2 separate regions of the Homo sapiens genome follow, and region 1 is linked to region 2. Evidence: promoter capture Hi-C in human tissues and cell types (Jung and others, 2019). All regions are on one chromosome and are shown on one strand. Each heading gives the region's core, a stretch centred on a gene start or on the middle of the fragment in contact. The rest is flanking DNA. Distances are from core to core; before and after follow the strand shown.

The links. Contacts are between HindIII fragments. The study calls those that stand out against the background at their distance.
Region 1: a contact is called between a fragment that was not itself captured here and the fragment with the promoter of ICAM5 in region 2, in 1 of the 25 tissues and cell types used here (liver).

Annotation. Positions count from the first base shown.
Region 1 is chr19:10,611,113-10,615,184 of GRCh38, reverse strand. It overlaps a transcript of SLC44A2 not described here. Among named protein-coding and RNA genes, the nearest start is that of SLC44A2, 12 kb to the left of the region's middle. The HindIII fragment of the contact is 8,359 bases long and covers 1-4,072 here.
Region 2 is chr19:10,286,833-10,291,201 of GRCh38, reverse strand. It overlaps ICAM5 (intercellular adhesion molecule 5), which reads right to left and starts at 1,250. Exons shown (of 11, transcript NM_003259.4): 1 at 1,077-1,250; 2 at 1-130. The coding sequence starts at 1,158. It overlaps ICAM4-AS1 (ICAM4 antisense RNA 1), which reads left to right and starts at 2,183. Exons shown (of 1, transcript NR_186335.1): 1 at 2,183-4,369. ICAM4 (intercellular adhesion molecule 4 (Landsteiner-Wiener blood group)) reads right to left here and starts at 4,247. Exons shown (of 3, transcript NM_001544.5): 1 at 3,796-4,247; 2 at 3,364-3,666; 3 at 2,682-3,216. The coding sequence starts at 4,189. The coding sequence ends at 3,098. RefSeq lists a silencer at 2,326-2,395 and enhancers at 4,120-4,259, 3,606-4,369. The HindIII fragment of the contact is 10,372 bases long and covers 1-3,321 here.

The sequences.
Region 1 (4,072 bases), core at 773-3,272, 320 kb before region 2:
TGCTATGATTACAGGTGTGAGCCACCACGCCCAGCCTCTGAAAACCTTTTTGATGATCCACTTCCACTTAATAAATAATAAATGTATTTTCTTTTCCTTACATTTTAATATTTTTTCCCTTAAAAGGAATGGCAAAAAAAAAAAACGCAATTACTTTTGCACCAACTTAATAACATTTTCTTTTCTTTTCTTCTTCTTTTTTTTTTTTTTTTTTGAGACGGAGTCTCATTCTGTCACCCAGGCTGGAGTGCAGTGGCGCAATCTTGGCTCACTGTGACCTCTACCTCCCGGGTTCAAGAGATTCTCCTGCCTCAGCCTCCCAAGTACCTGGGATTACAGGCACGCACCACCATGTCCGGCTAATTTTTGTATTTTTAATAGAGACGTGGTTTCACCATGTTGGCCAGGTTGGTCTCAAACTCCTGACCTCGGGTGATCCGCCCGCCTCAGCCTCCCAAAGTGCTGGGATTATCGGCGTGAGCCACCGCGCCCAGCCACATTTTCTTTTCTTCAGCTTACTTTATTGTAAGAATACGATATATATAATACAGAGACACAATATGTGTATGTTGATATGTTGTCCGTAAGGCTAAGAGTCAACAGTAGGCTATCACTAATTAAGTTTTGGGGGACTTATATGCAGTTATATGCAGGCCGGGCATGGTGACTCATGCCTGCAATCCCAGCATTTTGGGAGGCTGAGGTGGGAGGATCTCTTGAGGCCAGGAGTTGGAGACCAGCCTGATCAACAGATCACAACCCTGTCTCTACAAAAACTTAAGGCATACACAGATTTCTAATTTCACAGGGGGTTGGTGCCCCTCACACCCATGTGGTTTGAGGGTCAAATGCATTATTTCCTTTCGTTGCTGTAACAAGACACCAATGCCTTGGTGGCTTAAAAAAACACAAATTTATGGACGGGTGCGGTGGCTCATGCCTGTAATCCCTGCACTTTGGGAGGCCGAGGCAGGTGGATCACCTGAGGTCAGGAGCTTCAGACCAGCGTGGCCAACGTGGTGAAACCCCATCTCTACTAAAAATACAAAAAATTAGCTGGGCGTGGTGGTGTGCACCTGTAATTCCAGCTACTCAGGAGGCTGAGGCAGTAGAATTGCTTGAAACCAGGAAGCAGAGGTTGCAGTGAGCCAAGATCGCATCACTGCACTCCAGCCTGGGCAACAAGAGCAAAACTCGTCTCAAAAATAATAATAATAATAATAAATAAAAACCACAAATTTATTATCTCACAGCTCAGGAGGACAGAAGCACAAAATGCATCTCACTGGGCTACAATCGATGTGTAGGCAGGGCTGTTTCTTTCGGAGATTTTAGGGGAAAATCTGTTTCCTTGTCTGTTTCACCTTCTAGAGGCCGCCCACATTCCTTGGCTCCTGGCCACTTCTTCCATTTTTAAAGACAGCAATCACATCAAACCCACCTCGCTTCCGTCGTTCCATGTCCTCCTCTGACTCTGCTACCACCCTCTTCCATTTTTCTTAAAGAGACGGGGTCTCACTATGTTGCCCAGGCTGGTCTCAAAGTCCTGGGTTCAAGCAGTCCTCCTGCCTTAGCCTCCCAAAGTGCTTGAACTACAGGCATGAGCCACTACACCCAGCCAAAGTCTTCAACTTGGCCAGGCGCAGTGGCTTACACCTGTAATCCCAGCACTTTGGGAAGTCAAGGCAGGCAGATTACTTGAGGTCAGGAGTTTGAGACCAGCCTGTCCAACGTGGTGAAACCCCATGTCTACTAAAAATACAAAAAATTAGCCGGGCATAGTGGTGGGCGCCTGTAGTCCCAGCTACTCGGGAGGCTGAGGCAGGAGAATCACTTGAACCCAGGAGGCAGAGGTTGTGGCAAGCCAAGATTGCGCCACTGCACTCTAGCCTGGGTGACAGAGCAAGACTCCATCTCAAAAAAAAAAAAGAAAGAAAATAAAAAGTAAAAAATAACTATATTATCTGGGTGTGGTGGTGCATGCCTGTGGTCCCAGCTACTCAGGAGGCTGAGGTGGGAGAATCGCTTGAGCCCGGGAGGCAGAGGCTGCAGTGAGCTGTGATCACGCCACTGCACTCCAGCCTGGATGACAGAAAACACTGTCTCTAAAAAACCAAAACCAAACAAATAAAAATAACAAAACAAAAACTTCTCCAATCCCCACTAACCATTAGTGTGATCCCATTTCACGACGGGCACACTGAGGTTGCTTGCTCGGGCCACACAGCTGGTGAGGAGCACAGCCAGGAGTCAAACCAACGCCCTGCTGGAGCCAACCCAGGCCTTTTCCTTGGCAGGTACTGGGAGAAGCAGAGATAACGTTGCGGCAATGGTGTGGAAGAAAAATTGGGAAAATTGAGCTGTTGGACAAGGCCAGGATTGGGAGAGGCAGCCTTCGGGTGCCAGCCTTGCTGGCTGTGACGGCTGACCCACCCAAGTGCAGTGGGCGTGGGCGATAAGAGAACTGCCACAGCCTGCCCAGTCACAGTGCTGGTGCCAGGACATCAAATGCCACCCAGCCCCCACAGCTTCCGGACACTGGCCAAGTCCCCAAGGGCTGCAGCGGCCCAAGGCCTCACCCGTACAGCCAGCCACTGGCCTCTGCCTTCCCAGAAGTCTGTGCCTGGGGAATGAGCATCGCCAGCTGCCCAGACACCTCTTTTGACAAAGGGTTTGAGGACAGCATCTGGGTGGGGAGGCTCAGAAGGGTTAAGGGCAAAAGATAGAGCGCCTACTGTATGCTGGACTATGTTAGGCACCAAACCAGAGATTTGCTTCTAGAAACATTTAACCTTTTTTTATTTTTTATTTTTTGAGACAGGGTCTCCTTTTTTGCCCAGGATGAAGTGCAGGGGCGCAATCATAGCTCACTGCAGCCTTGACCTCCTGGGCTCAAGTGATCCTCCCGCCTCAGACTCCCTAGTGGATGGGACCACAGGCATGCACCACCACGCCCCGCTAATTTTTAATTTTTTGTTTTGCAGAAACAGGGTCTCACTATGTTGCCCAGGCTGGTATAAAATTCCTGGGCTCAAGTGATCCTTCCGCCCTGGCATCCCAAAGTGCTGGGATTATAGGAGTGAGCCACCACACCCGGCTCAGCCTAAGAAGCTTTAAAAAGATCCAGATGCCACACACACACAGAAATTAATAGGTCACAATCTGGAAGGAGACTTCTTGGCTGAGCTACCTCTGAGGTGAAAACAGCTAGCCAAAGATTTGTAGAAGATTCTTTCACATGGAAAGCTAAAATCTTCCATGGACTTGAGGACTTACTTATAATTAGCTTTTAGTCCCCCTGCCAGAACAGAGGGAATTTATTAATTTTATTATGTAAGAGTTTATTTGTTTACTTGTATATTTGAGATGGGGTCTCATTCTGTTACCTAGGTTGGAGTGCAGTGGCACAATGTCGGCTCACTGCAACCTCTGCCTCCTAGGCTCAAGCAATCCTCCCACCTCACCCTCCAGAGTGGCTCGGACCACAGGCATAAGCCACCATGACCAGCTAATTTTTTTGCATATTTTTGGGAAGAAGGGGTTTTGCAATGTTGCCCAGGCTAGTCTCAAACTCCTGGACTCAAGCGATCCACCCACCTTGGCCTCACAAACAGCTGGGATTATAGGAGTGAACCACGATCCACCCACCTTGGCCTCACAAACAGCTGGGATTACAGGAGTGAACCACTGCACCGGGTCTCTTGTTTGTTTATTTATTTATTTATTATTTTTTGAAATAGTGTCTCACTCTCTTGCCCAGGCTGGAGTGCAGTGGCGCAATCTTGGCTAACTGCAACCTCTGCTGCCCAGGTTCAAGCAATTCTCCTGCCTCAGCCCCCTGAGTAGCTGAGATTACAGGTACCTGCCACCACGCCTGGCTAAATTTTGTAGTGTTAGCAGAGATGGGGTTTCACCATCTTGGTCAGGCTGGTCTCGAACTCCTGACCTCAAGTGACCTACCCGCCTGGGCCTCACAAAGTGCTGGGATTACAGGCGTGAGGCACTGCACGCAGCCTAAAATAATATTTTAAAATAATGCTCTCTAGCCCGGCACAGAGGCACATGCCTATAG
Region 2 (4,369 bases), core at 1-2,500:
AGCGAGGTCTCCAGGCCACCGCGCTCCGGCCGAGGGCAGTTGGTGCTGCAATTCAGCCACAGCGAGCCCCCGCGCTCCACGAACGCCACGCGAGGCTGCAGGTCCGCCCAGAAGGGCTCCTGCGAGACCGCTGCCCAGGGAAACGCGGGCTGAGCCTGGGGAGCCAACTCCCTGACATCTTAGCGCCCCTATGTCGAGTCAAGGGTTCTCAGAGGGCGGGGAGGAGGAGGAGAGGCTGCAGCCAGGGAAAGAACCCAGGCGTCCCGCGTCCTGCCCAGGCCTCCGGTTTAAAGGCGCACTCCCAGAGTCTAAACCTCGAGGGTGTCTCTGGGACGTGGTAGCAGAGAGCCATGGTCTCCAAAGCGCCGATGGAGCGGCGGGAAAGCATGGGGGGAGGGCGTAGAGGAGAGGAAAGGTGGGTTCTTGGATGAACACAGCAAGGCTGAGAGAAGGGGACCCGGGATGGGGGATGGGGGATGAACCAGTTCTCAGGGTCCTGGCAGAATGCCGGGATACGAGGAGAGTGCGTTTGCGGCAAGGGCAAAGGAGAGACGAGGCTGGGTCAAGGATCAGGAAGGACCCTACACCCGGTGAAGAACACGGAGCCGGGACGCAAGGCTGGGCTCATGGAAGGAACCGCGGGAACAGCTGAGGGACCCGGTTGCCAGGGCTCTGGGTGGAGCGGGAACAGCGCCTCTGAGTCAGGGTAGTTGGAGAGATGGAGTCTTCGCGGACCGCGAGTGGGGAAGATGCCAGTCCGTGGACCATGGTGCACAGCACAGCGTAAGGAGGTACCCGGGGAGCGGACAGGAGAGACACTGGGTCTCCAGGGCGAAGGGTTGGGTGCGGAAGAACACCTAGGATCTCGAAGCGGGTAGGGGCTATCGAGGAGTCAGGAAGCTGGGGCTCGGGTGTGTGTTGGGGAGGAGGGGGAAGGGGAGAAGACTCAGGCTCGAGGTGGGGGCAGAGGCGTGGGAGCGAGGCGAGGGCAGAGCTGGGAGGGACAGGAGGCCGTTTCTCAGGTCCAGGGACTCCGCCCCCGCCCTGTCCACCCCGAACCAGAGCGGGGCTCTTACCTGAGAGGCCGAAGAGCCCCAGGCCCAGAGCAGCCCAGAGGCCGAGTAGCGCCCGGCGCAGCCCTGGCGAAGGCCCTGGCATCGCCGCGGCGGGGAAAGCACAGGAGGCGAGGAGAGCGCGAGCCGAGGAGCTGGGCTAGAGGACGGCTCCGCGCGGCGCGGCGGGTGGGGTGTGGGGGAGGCAGAGTTGCGCTTGGGGATTGGTTTAACGTTGGTAACTTGGTTTCCAAGGAGGGGGCGGCGGCAGAGGCGGCGGGGGGGCGGGAGGCGAGCGTGCGCTAAGCTCCTGGCCTTGGTGAAGGCGAGCTGGCAGGAGTGAGCGACCCCTGGGGTCTACGTGGAGGCCGGCATGATGGCCCAGGGCCTTCTGGGGGCGACCACGCTCTCTCGCGTCATCCCCGGCCGCGACTCTGGGATCGGGGGATGCTGGGTTGCCCTTCCCAAACCCCTACCCCAGCCCTGGCTGAGATGCCATGATAATAAGCTGGACTCCGAGCCCCGCCCCCACATTTAGCTCCTCCCACCAGCGCCCCTTAGGGCGGGGATACATTTGGGGACTAAGAGAGATTTGGGAGGCACTGGATGGGGAAAGGACAGTTCTAGGGGAGGGTGTGGGGATGCCTCTCTCACTGATCCTTCTCCTTTTGACCCCGCGGAGCCATACCTCTAAGCACCCCTCCGGGTCAGCTCCCGCACGCGACGGAGGGGGCGGGACGAAAGTGCCAGCGAGCCGAGGACACGTGTGCGTGCGCGCAGCGTTCGCGGGCGTCTAAATTAGAATCCGCTCGGCTCCGGGTCTGTATTTACCCAGGGTGCAGCGGGCACGTGTCTACTCAGCGTGTGTGAGCTCGAGCCACCCTGGAGCGCCCCTGAGTCCGCCTTCTGCTCGGTGGGTGGGGGCCCTGACATCCACGCGAGAACAAGGGACCGAGGGTGATGCTTTTGACTCCGCTTCCGGGCCCCAAGCTTTGACACCCCCCACCCCCAACTCCATGCGCTCATCTGGCTGGGTGACTACCAGAACATCGTCAGAATTCGAGTTTGTGATATTCCCTGTGGACCATCTGATCACCCCTTCCCGGCTGCCACCACATGGATACCTCTTCTGCGTATCCACGTCCCTCAATATGTCCGTGGGACCCTCCCCTCCCCACCATTCGTGGTCTCACTCCAGCGTGGTAAGTTATTTTGGAGATGAGTTCTCGCTCCACAGTTGTTTGGCCTCCAGGAAAGCACAGGGTCTGAAGGTGGGGCTGGGATAGGAAACTTAACATCCAATCAGAGCTGCCGCGTGGTGGCGGCGGCGCCAATCAGGAAAGCCATACCATGAACCCCACCCCGCCCCTGCCCGTGGCTCTCCCCGGCCCGCGCTGATCCCACTCGATAAGGCCAGCAGAAGGAGAGGTTTCTGTGACACCCGCTGGGGATACACAGAGTCTGGGGCTTCGGGACCCCAGGTGGGCCCTGAGTGAGGAAACCTCAGGTGCCCTCAGGGAGACAAGGAACTTGGAGAAAGTGATCGCAAAAACAACAACAACAACAAAAACAAACCAGTTCCTCCGAAGAAGGGCAGTAATGCGGACCCTTAGGTCACAGGACAGAGGCTGGTTAAGGAAGCCTTTATTGATTCCAGAGGGTTCCCCCGCCAATATTTATTTTTATTTTTATTTTATTTTTGGAGACAGGGTCGTGCTCTGTCCCCCAGGCTGGAGTGCAGTGGCACGATCAAGGCTCACTGCAACCTCGACTTTCAGGGCTCAAAGGATCCTCCCAACTCAGCCTCCCGGGTAGCTGGGACCACAGGTGCGGGCCACCACACCAGGCTAATTTGTGTATTTTTTGCATAGACGGGGTCTCACTATGTTGTCCAGGCTGGTCTCGAACTCCTGGGCTCAAGCGATTCTCCTGCCTCGGCCTCCCAAAGTGCTGGGATTACAGGCGTCAGCCACCATGTATGGCCATTTCCCCAGATTGTTTCATATTCCTCTTTTTCTCGCTCAGCCGGCATAGAACATCCCCCTTTACGCCTGGGACTTCATAGCTAGGCACTTGCATAGGTACGCAGCGCCCACAGTGAGGAGGATCCCTACAAGGGCAGCGATGGAACCGGAGGCCAAAGCTGTGGGCGCGGGGCTCCAAGCTGGGAGCAGAAGGCGAGAATTAGGAACGGAACACAGGGAGGTCTGTCGACCCGCGTGGAGCTCACGCTTGGTCTGTGCGCCCTCTCGGGGTCATAACTCTCTCTGCCCCCTTCCTCCTAGTCCCCAGGGTTACAGGGGTGCCTCACCGAGCATCAGTGTAATGGGTGCCGAGCTGTTGCGGACCACCAGGCCGTCGAGATTGAGGCGCGCGTGGCAGATCACGGGCTGCCAGAAGTCGCGGGGTCCAGCAGCAAACTCGTAGGTCAAGGTCACGTTGGCCAGATCCAGGCCGGTGAAGCGCTCCAGGCTTTCGGAATAGATGACCCGGCTTCCATGCCTCAGGGTCACCACCAAGTAGCCCACCGGGAACACCTGCGTCACGTGGCAGCGCAAAGTGTATTTCCTGCCCTTTAAGACCGGAGGCTCCAAAATCACGCTGTGGGGCGGTTCTAAGGCAAGGGGGAGCCTCTGAGTGAGGTCCGCGGGCGCTCCCTATAGAGCGACTGTCAACTACCCTTCCCCCACCTCTTCCAGCCCCCTCCCCTCACCCCAGCCGGGACCGAGCCCCTGTCCCTCACTGTAGGCGGTGATCCTGGAGGTGGCCCAGCGTGTTTTTCCTGCGCAGGTCACGAGGCAGTGCGCGAGGGAGCTCCAGGCCCTCACGTCGAGCAGCTGGTAAGACACCCAACCCGGCCCTCTGAGCGTCTTGCCTTGCCGCAGCGGGGTGCGGAGGCTGGAATTCTGCGGCTGGGGACAGCTGTTGCTGCAATTGAGCTGCACTGACTTCCCCGGCTGCACAGCCACGAACTCCGGGCTCATGCGCACCCAGAAGGGCACTGAGGTCCCGGAGGGCGCGAGAGGGCTACCCTTGGGGCTTTGCGCCCGCTTAGTCCGGCGTCCCAGCGCGCTCCCAACTCCCGGGTAGGCGGCCGCCAAAAAAAACAGCAGCGACAGAGGGAACAGAGACCCCATGGCAAAAAGCCCGGACTAAGGGGCCCCGCGCCAGAGAGCCAGGGCCGGCTCTAGAGATAAGGAGGCCCGCAGCCCCGCCTCCTCGACTCCACCCTGGAGAGGAAGGGGAGGCCCCAACAGAGGGCCCGGGAGTACTGCAAAAAGGGATTCCGCTCCCCAGGTCAAGAATAAGATTCCAGG